Regions from separate parts of the Homo sapiens genome. Here all the other regions are linked to region 1. Evidence: promoter capture Hi-C in 16 types of primary human blood cells and fetal thymus (Javierre and others, 2016). All regions are on one chromosome and are shown on one strand. The core of a region is centred on a gene start or on the middle of the fragment in contact, and the rest is flanking DNA. Distances in the headings are between cores, read along the strand shown.

Region 1 (4,091 bases), core at 1,032-3,531:
ACTTGTGCAGTGTCACCCAGGAGCTGGGAGAAACAAAGATTCCTGGGCCCCACTGCAGGATGCTGCATTTTAACAGACCCTCAGGTGATTCATAAGTCCATGAAGTCTTGTGGGTTAGAACCACTAACCCACAAGCCCTTGTCATGGGATGCAGCATGATCCACCTGGGGGACTGAGGGCGACTGTCTTCTCCAGCCTCACCCTCCCCACATGCCCTTGAAAAGCCACTCGAGTCCTGTGCCCAGGAGCCCTCTCCTCCTTTATCATCTGCGGAATGTCTACCCTTCCTTGCTGGTGCAGCTCACTTGCCACCTCCTCCAGGAAGCCTTCCTGGGCTCCATAAAGCTGAGCTGCTTATGCCCTCCTCTGTGTATTTAACAGCAATTTGCTTTTCATTGTGTGATGTGGCCGAACTTCTTCATTGGGCCTGGGGATCTGAAGCCACGCCACTTCAAATGAGTGGGAGGGTGTGGAAAAAGGGCAAGTAATGGCCTGCAGAGAAAGGGGCCCTTCCTGATCATCCACTGTGCATGTTCACATTCATCAATGACTTCGCTCTTTCCTTTTAACCTATGAGGTTGGCGTTGCCCACAGGTTTTTTTTGTTGTTGTTATTGTTTTGTTTCTTGGTTTTGTTTGTTTTTGAGACGGAGTCTCCCTCTGTCGCCCAGGCTGGAGTGCAGTGGCGCGATCTTGGCTCACTGAAACTCTGCCTCCTGGGTTCAAGCGATTCTCCTGCTTCAGCCTCCTGAGTAGCTGGGATTACAGGCACATGCCACCATACCCGGCTAATTTTTGTATTTTTAGTAGAGACGGGGCTTCACCATGTTGGTCAGGCTGGTCTTGAACTCCTGACCTTGTGATCCGCCCGCCTCAACCTCCCAAAGTGCTTGGCATTACAGGTGTGAGCCACCATGCCTGGCCTGCTCACAGGTTTTACAAGAGGGGACACTGAGGCAAAAGTGTCCCATGGAGGCTGTGCTGCTGACAAACGGCAGAGCGGCTCCTGCCATTCACCTGCACTGTATCTCGGGCTTTGCTTTGGTCTACTCCATAAACTTCCTGAAAAAGGTTTCTTTGAAAAAGTCCAAATTTGTCCCTAATAACTGAAGGGTAGAAATGTGAAATGGGCCTACTCTGGGATCAAGACCACCTGGGTTCAAACCCTAACTTGGAAGCTCTGGGCCTTGGGCAACTAACTGGCCTCTTTCAAGTTCAGTTTTCCCTCCTGTAGGTTGAGAGGTTTCAACGAGACAACACAGATGAAAGGCACAGCCTGGCCCCCAGCATGCAGGCCAGTGTTTGGTAATTGATAGTTTTCTCTCCTGTTTCACTATCCTAGGTCCAAAGAACCAGAAGAGTAGACAGTCCTTAGAGACAGCAGCTGTGCCGGCTGCAGAAATGGAGAGAGCTGTGAGCTAGAATAGAAGAAGAGAAAGGCCAAAAACCACGGAGAAACAGAGCCAGACAACACAGAGGTGAAATTCAGAAAGCGAGTCCAGCACTTGGCTGAAGTTACAGGCCCTTCCTGCCCTGCCCTTTCCCACCCAAGGCCATGCCTAGTTCATGTTACTAAGTCTAAGAAACAGCTCCAGAAGTGGCATCTCTGCTAACCACTAGGGAAGATATTGTCGTTTTTTAATGATTCAAACTCTCCAGGGAACCAAGAAGGCTGAGGGCGCTGAGTTCTCTCCACACACCTGGGCTCAGGACTCCCCCAATATCTACGTGCTTTATTCCTGATCTTAACAGGCTCTGAAAGCCACATAAACCCGTGCTTGCCTGGGTACCAAAAGACCCGGGCCCGGGGGTCTTTGTTCGGGCTCGGTGCCTTCTCCATCTAAGCTTTCTTGGCAGTGTTACTCTCCTCACACTGTTACTTGGGTTCTCACTTTCTGTTCTTGAGTTAATGGATGTTTGTTTTCCTGAATTCACGGGTCCTTTGTAAGTCTTCTATCCCATAACGTAAGATGGGGGTATAAACAAAGAAGCAAGCGCTAGCTGACCTTATGTGGGGCATGGTTAGGGAACAGGAATTCCCTGTATCCAGCAGGGTTAAGCTGGTAGGAGGAAAGGGAAATGAGAGAAAGGAATCAAGAAGTGAGAAAGGGAACCAGTACCTGTCAACACCAACACACACCTGGTAAGTAGCAGGGCTGGTCTTCAAATCCAGGACTATGGGGCCACTGCATGGGAACAGAAGCAGCTTGTAGACTTCGGTGGTGGGGCTGCCAGAGTCGGGGAATTAAGGGAGGACAGGCTCTGCAGCCCAAGTGCCAGATGCCAACGGCCTGCGAAGGCTCTAGGACCCAGCTCCAAATCAGTGCTCCCGGCGCCATCCAGTGGCCATTAGGGAGATTGCAAGAGAAAAAAGCATGAGAAAAGAAACCCCAGAGAAGCCAGTGCCTGCCAACTCCAGGGAAGAGGAAGGAAGGAGCCTGGCCTTTGCCCTCAGTGCCCCCTATCAGTTGACTACCCTGCTCCAGTTTGACCTCCCCACTAGGCTTCTTCCTGGTGCAACTGATGTTTTCTCTCTGTGTGACCTTGGGCAGGCAACTCTGGCCTCTAGGCCTCAGTTTCCCCAACTGTAAAATGAATGGTAAGGCAAGGTGAGGTCACATGCCAAGTCCATAGGTCTTTAGCTCATCTGATCCTCATGGCCAGGTAAGATGATCATTCCCATCCCCCCATACTCCAGTCCCTCCTGACCACGCATAGTTCAAGCTTCACTCACCTGTAAAGTCTTCCATGGCCTCCTGCGGAAATTCCAGCCACCGTTTAAGGATCACCTCTCCAGGATTTCTCCCTCCTCTCATCTGAAGTTCCCTCTTTCTGCAACAGTCAGGTGGACCTCAGCCCTTCTAGCCCGGAGCTTCCTCAGCTCAAGAGTTTTTCTCAATCATCAGTTTCTCCCTCTTCACCAAGCCTAGCAAGGTGCCCGGCACAGAGTACTTAAGAGCAGCTGCTCTGAAGTCAGTCAGCCTGGCTTCAAGCCCCATGTGGTAGGCAGAATGGCCTTCCCCACAAAGATGTACACATTTTAATCCCCGGCACCTGTGATTTCACCTCACACGACAAAAGGGACTTTGCAGATGTGGTTAAGATAGAGAGCTTGAGGCTGGGCGCGGTGGCTCACGCCTGTAATCCCAACACTTTGGGAGGCTGAGGCAGGCGGATCACCTGAGGTCGGAAGTTCAAGTCCAGCCTGACCAACATGGAGAAACTCTGTTTCTACTAAAAATACAAAAAATTAGCTGGGAGTGGTGGCATACACCTGTAATCCCAGCTACTCAGGAGGCTGAGGCAGGAGAATCGCTTGAACCCAGGAGGCGGAGGTTGCAGTGAGCCGAGATCGCACCATTGCACTCCAGCCTGGGCAACAAGAGCAAAAACTCCATCTCAAAAAAAAAAAAAGATAGCTTGAGATGGGATTATCTTTGATTATCAAGGTCATGCCAATATAAACAGAAGGGTCCTTATAAGACAGAGACGGGAAGGTCAGAGTCAGAGAAAGAGATGTGCTGATGGAAACTGAGTCTGAAGTGATGTAGGGCCATGACCCAAGGAATTCAGGTAGCCTCTAGAAGCTGGAAAAGGCCAGGAAACAAAAGCCTCTAGAAGGAATAAAGCCTTGCCAACACATCTTAGACTTCTGACCTAAAAACTGTAAGGTAATAAATGTGTGTTGCTAGCCACTCAATTTGTGGTAACTTATTAGAGCAGCCATAGGAAACATCCTGGTTCAGCTTCGTACTGGTTATGTTACTGTTGGAAACTTAACCTTTCTGTGTCTCAGTGTCCTCATCTGTAAAATGGGGATGATAAAGGCAATAATTCTTATTTCACTGGTTCCAAGTATAAAATGAAAATACCTGCAAATCAGTTACAATAATGCCCAACACTAAATATGTTAGCTGTTACTATAAGAACAGTTAATAGCTACCATTAATTGAGGGATAGGTACAAGGCACATGCCTTAGAAGAATGTCCTTGATTCTCCCCATCACGCTTGGGGGTAACAATTCCAGTCTCCACTTTGCAGATGAGGAAACAAACACAAAATAATTTTCCCCAAATCACTCTAGGACTGGA
Region 2 (4,091 bases), core at 1,194-3,693, 380 kb before region 1:
TCTAAGTTTCTGTCCCTCTGCTTCCTTACTTTTTTTCCTTTTTGAATTCTATCTTTATCTGTCTTTTGTTCACTTTTTAATGCTATATATGGGCAGGGGTGAGAGACATTACTGAGCACCTTGGTGAGCAAGCCTGGCTTTAAAGATTGGAGAAGAGCTTCTGGCACCAGAACCCTGTCTTCCTCCAGTTCTCAACACGGTGTTGCTCTTCAGTCATACCGGAATCTGAATCAAAAAAGTATTTTTAAATATCCATGATTTCTCCCTGTATTGAGGCTAGCCCTGATCATGCTTTTTGTGCCTGTCACCAGGTCTCCCAAGTGCACTCATCCAGGTCAGTGCTCAGATGTGTTTAAGGAGACCCTATATTCAGGGAAGTTGCGTGAACACTGCAGTGGGGAGAATTGAGAATAGTCAGGCCTATCAGTCTCACAGAATCACCCCTCTACCTTTGATATTCCACTTAGCTGTAGAGTCCATCTGTTTGTCCATCTGCTGAAATGAGAAAAGAAAAATTTATGCACTGATTTAAAACAAACCAAAAAAAAAGAAAAAAACAAAAAAAAAAATCCCTCCTTTCTAGCTGAACAAAAATGTGCAGTTAATACTTGGCGCTTGAAAATGCAGTAGTGAATGTGGAACCAAGCCTGTCTGTATATCTGGTAGCTCTTTTCTTGCTTTGTTTTTTCTTACCAGTATTCTGCCTAACGTTTGCTTCTGTGATGGTTATATTGCCTAGCAAGCACACCCGTGGTTGTGAAAATAGTATAGCAAAAAAGAAAAATCCCCGGTTATTGATGTACTAGATTTGTGTATGTCTTTTAAACAGTTCTAGTTTCACCTTACACAGAATAATCAGGAAAAGTGTAAAAATTCAAAAGTGAAATAAAAATTTTATCAGTTAGTTGCCTGTGAATTGATGTGTCACCACCATCTCTGTTGTTACCAGACCTAGCTAACTATTCTGATCACACTTATTTTTAACTCTGTTTTCTTTAAAAATAGGCAAACAGTTTTATTTCATTATTTAGGACCAGAAGTCAAGGTGTTATCCAGGGGAAGAAATTACCATTAATTAAACAGCCTCTTTACACCCGTTACTTGATACCTCTCTACCTTCCACAACAAACCATGCAGGTATTAGGTCCTCTTTAGTGACTTCTAAGATTTGGTATGGACAGTTATTTTGCATTGTATTCGAGCCCACCATCCCTTCCCCATTTTTTAACTCTGAGATACAACCAAGCCAGTGAAATAGGTAACCTATGGTTGCATAAGTCTTGGTCATCACCAAGCTGGCGTCTCACCTGTCCTCACACTGTATGGTGGCCTGCAGAGCTGGTTCCTCACAGGATTTGCCCCTTCTGAAAACATCCACATTACCACAAGGAGAGAAAAATATCAGGATAGAGGGGTCTTTTTTAGCCCAAGATTAGAATTAGTGCTTCCTTGCTACTCTGAGGCTGGACAGCCAGATGGGCACCTTCTGTCCCTAGTTTAGGAGCTGTTCCACCTGTTGAAGCCACACTCAACCAAAAGTCAGTGGGGGCCTACCTGCTCTGTTGGATCAGTGAGACCAGGAAAGTCCTATCAGAGGAAAAGTGAAGTATTGGTGCTCAGTGGAGTAGTTGTTTTGTTTTTGTGTTGTTTTTAATGTCCCTATACCACAGATTGACGCTGCAAGCTCAGATTCACAGTCTTGCTCTGTTTAGGTCTTGCTCTGCTATTAGTTCCCAATTGTCCGCATTTAGGCTGAGCCACAAGTAACTCAGTGAACCTCCCTGGTGTAATGGATGTGTAATGGCTTAGCAGAGGGACAGGGAATATCCCAGGAAAAGGGGTCTTGGTAATATGAGCCAGTACCAAGAAAGGCCTTAGTGGTCTCCAGTTCTCATGTCTCAAAGCCATTTCCATCCTTGGTGCGAAACGGTGGGACTGGATCAGGCTCTCTGGAGGAAGACATCTTCAATGGAGCAGGGTAAAATTCTCTACACAAGCTTTGAAACAGTGGCCTGTTCGGAATTCCGTTTGTGTGTGAAACGCAAAAAGCGCGGTTTGGGTCTCCTTTCATTCTTGTCAGGAGGGAATCATTCCCATTTTACAGAGAAGGGAAACGGGTTCAGAAAGATGATCATCTGTTCCGGGGTTAGAACTCAGTCCCCTGCGTCCTTTCCGTCCCAGTCCTCGGCTCTTTCAAAAGAGCTGGGGGTTTTGAGAGCTCCACTCAAGTCCCAGCAGCCCTGCTCAAGGCCAGGTTGAAGGCTTTTTCCGCCTCCCAGGGCGGGGTCAGAGGTGTCCCCACCTGTAGCTTTTAGATCCCCAAGTGCTCGCAGGTGGGGGGTGGGCCCAGGAGGGATCCCGGGGGAGGGGCGTCCGAGCGCGCCCACGATTGGTGCGCAGGGACGCGGGGGCGGTAAAGGGAAGGGGCGGGCCCGCGCCCAGGAAGGAGGGCTTCCGCCCGGGTGAGCGCGGGGCTGCTGGGTGACCCGGCTCCTGCTTGCCCCGCAGCCCCGGCCCCCTGCCCACCATGAACGCCAGCGGTTCTGGCTACCCGCTTGCCTCGCTTTACGTGGGCGATCTGCACCCCGACGTGACCGAGGCCATGCTCTATGAGAAGTTCTCTCCCGCCGGCCCCATCCTGTCCATCCGCGTGTGCCGCGATGTAGCCACCCGGCGCTCGCTGGGCTACGCCTACATCAACTTCCAGCAGCCCGCGGACGGTGAGCCCCGGGGATGGGGCGGGAGGGGAAGGACCGACGGACAAGCAGGCGGACAGACAGAAGCCGGAACTGGGCCGCTTGCGCTTTCATCTTACACTTTGCAGCCGGGGAAACTGAGGCTCAAAGATAACAGGGCGTTGGCAGAGGCCTGGCCCCTGAGACGGGAATTGGTAATTAGTGTGGTTTACTGCTATTCCTCTACAGAGGAGAGAGATTAGGGTCGAGTGAAAACAGATACAGGCTTTGTGGGGGTGGGGGTGGGGGTCAGGCGGACCAGGGATAGAAGCCCAGCAGCCGTGTGACTCTGGGCAAGTTACTCGACCATTCTGAGCTTCAGATGCGTGTCTGGAAAATGGGGGTCCTAGCTGCCTTATAGAGTGCTTGTGAGGATGAGAGATTCAAAGCACCTGGTGAGGAAGATGCCCAAGGCAACACAGCTGGTGAGCAGGGGAGGCAGGAGAACCCAGCCTTGGGCTCAGGCCTTTCCCAGCGCGACGTGAGATCCACACTGGGCGCCTCTACCTGCACGGGCTCTGAAAAACCGCTGCCTCCAGGCCGCAAGGCCGCTTTCTCAGAGCTGATAGCATTGATTAGAGCTTGTCCGATGAGTTTGCCTGCACTTCTGTTGAGAGTGGAGAGGATGAGTGAGCTTGGGCAAGCCTTCACGCTCTGCACCTTTTCATCTGCAAAATGGGGCTAAGGCGTATTCTCCAATAACATAAAGAATGGAGAACTGCTGTCTATGCATAAAGAATGGTAACTGCTTGTTACCTCGTAAACGCTCTTAAGTGGTAACCTAAAATAAATAAATAAATAAATAAATAAATAAATAAATAAATAAATAAGGCCAGGCGCAGTGGCTCACGCCTGTAATCCCAGCATCTTAGGAGGCCGAGGTGGGCAGATCACTTGAGGTCAGGAGTTCGAGACCAGCCTGGCCAACATAGCGAAACCCTTTCTCTACTAAAAATACAAAAAATAGCTGGGCATGATGGCGGACGCCTGTAATCCCAACTGCTGGGGAGGCTGAGGCACGAGAATCGCTTGAATCCGGGAGGCAGAGGTTGCAGTGAGCCGAGACTGCGCCATTGCACTCCAGCCCGGGCAACAGAGCGAGACTCCATCTCAACACAAAACAAAACAACAAACAAAAAAGAAACAACAACGAAAATAGTGGCTTTAACATTCTGATGTAAGACTCCAGAAACTCACCCAAAAAATGGCCGGCGTCCACTAGAGGGATCCCTTGCGCCAGGTCGCCTGGGTGAACCTGGTGGTTGCCTGAGTGGGTGGTTTGCTAGGGAAGGGGTTGTTCCGCCGGGCCTGTTCCCCGCCCCTTACTGGGCTGGATTCCTGGGCACTTTTCTGTTT
Region 3 (4,091 bases), core at 1-2,500, 330 kb before region 1:
GATCGTGTCTAAAATGTCTAGCACATGGTAAATCACTCAAGAGATGCTAGCCAAGAAAAGGAAAAAAAGGAAGGCGGCAAAGGGAAATAGGTACTGAACGGTGACTCACAGAAACCAGGATCCAAGGCTCCTTTCAAAAGTCAAGGCTTTAACCAATGAGGGTTTCTGATTAAGTCACCCTGGAGAAGGGGCTTTGGGCAAAGGTCTGCGGTATGCTGACGAAAGCTGGACGCTGGGAGAACTGGTAAGAATATGCTATTCTTCTGTTTCAAACTCTCCAGTAGCTTCCCATCCAGCAGCTTTCATGCCAAGCTTCCAGTTTGGCATGAAATCCGAACTCCTTAGCAGAGTTTACAACACCTCCACAATAAATAAGGGTCTGCCTTCCTAACTGACCTCATGTCTTCCTATTCCCTGCCCTGGCTCACTATGCTTTGACCCCTGAAACACACCATGTTTATATCGTCTTGGAGGGGGGGCCTTTCTCATTGCAGTTCACTTCAGGACCGAAAACCTTGTGCGCTTGGCTTCTCATCATTTAGACATCACCTCAAATATCACTTCTTTACAGATGTTGCCCTTGATCTCCCACTCCAGTCAACTCTATCACATCACCCTATTTGTCTTCTTCCTAACCCTGATTATCCCACAGGTCTCGTTTACTTACTGACTCGCTTAAGACTCACGTCCTCCCCACCGCCCCCACAAGAATGCGCTGTCCTTGAGAGAAGGGACTTTTTGTGTCTTGTTACACAGGCGGTATATAACAGCTACTCAACAAATACTAACTGAAAAATGAATTGCTGCGGGGGAGGAGGGTTTAGCTTTCTTCTCAGGGCTCAGAACGAGGCCTAAATAACTTAGGATGGGGGCCAACAGGGCAGTTAACAAGCAGGTGGAAAGAAAGGGCCGAGGAAGTTTCTGGTAGGATGCCGGAGTCGGAAGGGGCTGGAAGGGTGGGAGGGCCGGGCAGGACTGCTGGCCGCCGCGCGAGGCCCGGGCGGTGGTTGCGGGAGTTGGAGGAGCAGGCCCGGAGGTGAGATGGGGGCCGGGGTCGTACCTTGCGCCTGCAGCACCCGCAGCGCGCGGCCGTAGAGCGCGGAGGCCTCGGCGTACTGGCCGTTGCGGAAACTCTCATTGCCGGCGGCGCGGAGCTCCTCCACAGAGTCTGGGAATTTGGGGGCCATCCCGTGGCCAGGCCGGCGAGTTGGGAGCTCCTTCCTTCCTCCCCCGTGTGGTGCGGCACACCTTCCGGGCGCAAGCGCCGGCGGCGAATATCTCCGCCCAACAGCGAACCCGCGGCGAGGGGGCGGGGCCTGCGAGACCTGGAGGCCCGGAGCGTCCCGCCCTCTGCGCGTGCTCGGTTTGGAACTTAGGCTCCCTTGCACGCGGGGCGGCAGCATGCTCTGGGCTCCCTGAGTTGCTAGAACGCCGTGGATGACGCAGGGAAGGAGGCTGGCCCCGCTATCAGGGAGATTATGTCCTAGTGGGGTCCCCACAGGCAATTAACTGATAAGCAAACGAAGACTCTCATTTCATGTGATTAGTGCTGTAAGGAAAACAAAACAGGATAATGCAATGGAAAGTGACCACGTGTGGGCTATTTTAAATAAGGGGATGAAGGAAGGCCTTTCTCAGGGGGTAATAGTTGAGCTGAGACCAGACAAGATTTAGGGAATGCTGTTCCAGCCAGAGGGATGGTAAGTGCAAAGGTTCCAAGGCTAGAAAGTACCTGGTACCTAGTGCTCTATAGATATTTATTTAATAAATTAATGCACAGGTGGATTGATGGTGTCAAAGTCAACATATAGAGATGAATCTCTAAAGTTTAAATATTTTATTTGGCAATCAAGAATTGCAATTCAGGGCTTACACACAGACCAGGTTGTCTTTGGTATGTCAGAAGAACAAAGAGAAGGTTTGGAGATTTTTATAAAACAGAAATGTTACATATTGCTCTTCAAGGAAGTTTACAGGCACTAGTAAAGTGGGGGTTTATCAGCTTCTTGGGGAGCTGGCAAGCTTTGATTGGTAAGTGATAGTGGTGGATAAAACTCAGAATTGTAGCAGGCTGTTTCAGTAGCTATTAGATAAAACTGGTTTTAGGTTACAGCAGGCAGTTTTAGCAGCCAGGCTTGCAAAAAATTACTTTTTTGGAGCAATGTTATATGCCCTGAGTATTTGTTCCCCTGGCTTTTCAATTCTGTCTTAGTTGGATATGACAAGAATGACCCAATTCGTATGATCAGCTTTCAGAATGGATGAAGATCTTTCACAGAGTGTGACTTCAATTTATCTCCAGCCTCATCTGACGACTCTATGTCCCACGCATTGCTATCTACACACACTAAATTCTTGCTTCCTAGCCTTTGCTTGTTATCTCCTTCTCCTGGATTTTTTTTTCTAAATACTTTTTCTCCTGCCTAATCCTGAATTAACTTATAACATTCCATTCAAACATCATCTTCTCTGAAAGCCTTTCCTGCTTCCAGCCCCCTCCCCACCCCCCACTATGCTCCCTTTGCTCCCTATTGGTCTCTAGCTTTATCCCTAACTTTGCATTAGTCACCCTTTGATTGCCAGTTTGTAGTTTTCCTTAAACACTGCGAGGTCTTTAATGGCAGGAAGTGGGTCCTTTTTATCTTTGTTTATCCAAGACCCTAATAGGGTCTGGCATCCAATAAAAGTCATTGATTGATAAAGATCTAGTCTCTACCTTCAGGAATTCAGTTATAATGATCTGCATACACTTAACTCCACCAGACTATAAGCTTTCTGAGGGCTGGATGGCTGTTCCATCTGAAATGCTTCCCCTTGCCCTCTGCCCCGACCAAGGATGAACACTGACTGTGGTGGGAAAACCAGATGAGGCCCATGCTGCTGGCTGGCTACTCAGTGACTTCCATCTTTGCTTCCAGGAGCCTGAATTTTGCCTGAGACTCTCCCAGCCTGGGGAAGTGAATCAGGATTGCTCTAAGCCAATTAGAAAAATGTCATTTTCTCTTGCCAGTGATTCATCAAGGGATGCACATGTGATGCTGATCTGGGCAATGAGATAAAAGGGAGTCTGAGGCTGGTCGCAGTGGCTCACATCTGTAGTCCTAGCACTTTGGGAGGCCGAGGCGGGTGGATCACAAGGCAGGAAATCGAGACCATCCTGGCTAACACAGTGAAACCCCATCTCTACTAATAATACAAAAAATTAGCTGGGGTGGTGGCACGCACCTGTAGTCCCAGCTACTCAGGAGGCTGAGGCAGGAGAATAGCTTGAACCCGGGAGGTGGAGGTTGCAGTGAGCTGAGATTGCACTGCTGCACTCCAGCCTGGGCGACAGAGCAACACTCCGTCTCAAAAAAAAAAAAAAAAAAAAAAAAGAGTCTGCTGAGTGTTTATGGGAAAGGTTTCCCTCCCCATAACAGAGAGGTACTGGGTCAAGTAGCCATTCTTGCTCTTTTTCTGCTTTGGGTAGTGCTGGGTTAAGGATATGATACCTGGAGGTGTGGCAGTCATTTTGCAACCATGAGGCAATAAACACAAGTATGAAAAGCCAACATGCTGAGTAGGATGGGAGGGGAAAAAATGAAATAGATATTGCTGAGTCATTGAATCAACTGCTGACTTATTAGCTTATTAATAAACAATAAAGGCAAGGTGTGGTGGCTCACAGCTGTAATCCCAGCTCTTTGGGAGGCCGAGGTGGACGGATCACTTGAAGTCAGGAGTTTGAGACCAACCTGGCCAACATGGTGAAACCCCATCTCTACTAAAAATACAAACAGTAGCTGGGCGTGGTGGCATGCGCCTGTAATCCCAGCTACTCAGGAGGCTGAGGCAGGAGAATTGCTTGAATCCAGTGAGCCCAGATCACTGGGCTGCTGTGGTCCATCCTGGGCAATACGGCGAGACTCTGTCTCAAAACAAACAGTAAATGCCATGGTGCTTTAAGCCAACATTTAGATGTTTTCACTTGCTTGCAGCTGAATATTTCCTGAGTGGTTTATCGGATAAGTGTAGCTGTGGCAAATTTTATTTTCCAAAAATGGCCCCAATAATATTTCTGGTTCCCCAAGCTCTTCCAGACCCTTGCCACT

The links. The method cuts DNA at HindIII sites, captures the fragments that hold promoters and counts their contacts. A CHiCAGO score of 5 or more calls a contact.
Region 2: the fragment with the promoter of PABPC1L here is called in contact with a fragment that was not itself captured in region 1 in 1 of 17 cell types (endothelial precursors); the score reaches 7.0 in endothelial precursors.
Region 3: a contact is called between the fragment with the promoter of TOMM34 here and a fragment that was not itself captured in region 1, in 1 of 17 cell types (endothelial precursors). The highest score is 6.8, in endothelial precursors.

Annotation. Positions count from the first base shown.
Region 1 is chr20:45,288,735-45,292,825 of GRCh38, forward strand. It overlaps LOC105372630 (a long non-coding RNA gene), which reads left to right. Exons shown (of 3, transcript XR_936763.3): 3 at 1,342-1,618. Among named protein-coding and RNA genes, the nearest start is that of RBPJL, 16 kb to the right of the region's middle. The HindIII fragment of the contact is 879 bases long and covers 1,843-2,721 here.
Region 2 is chr20:44,907,617-44,911,707 of GRCh38, forward strand. PABPC1L (poly(A) binding protein cytoplasmic 1 like) reads left to right here and starts at 2,444. Exons shown (of 15, transcript NM_001372179.1): 1 at 2,444-2,720. The coding sequence starts at 2,528. It overlaps YWHAB (tyrosine 3-monooxygenase/tryptophan 5-monooxygenase activation protein beta), which reads left to right. Exons shown (of 6, transcript NM_139323.4): 6 at 1-916. RefSeq lists a silencer at 2,298-2,627. The HindIII fragment of the contact is 5,219 bases long and covers 1,996-4,091 here.
Region 3 is chr20:44,959,147-44,963,237 of GRCh38, forward strand. TOMM34 (translocase of outer mitochondrial membrane 34) reads right to left here and starts at 1,251. Exons shown (of 7, transcript NM_006809.5): 1 at 1,061-1,251. The coding sequence starts at 1,187. It overlaps LOC124904912 (a long non-coding RNA gene), which reads left to right. Exons shown (of 2, transcript XR_007067599.1): 2 at 1-391. RefSeq lists enhancers at 180-269, 1,050-1,099, 1,110-1,199 and a silencer at 1,430-1,509. The HindIII fragment of the contact is 1,710 bases long and covers 311-2,020 here.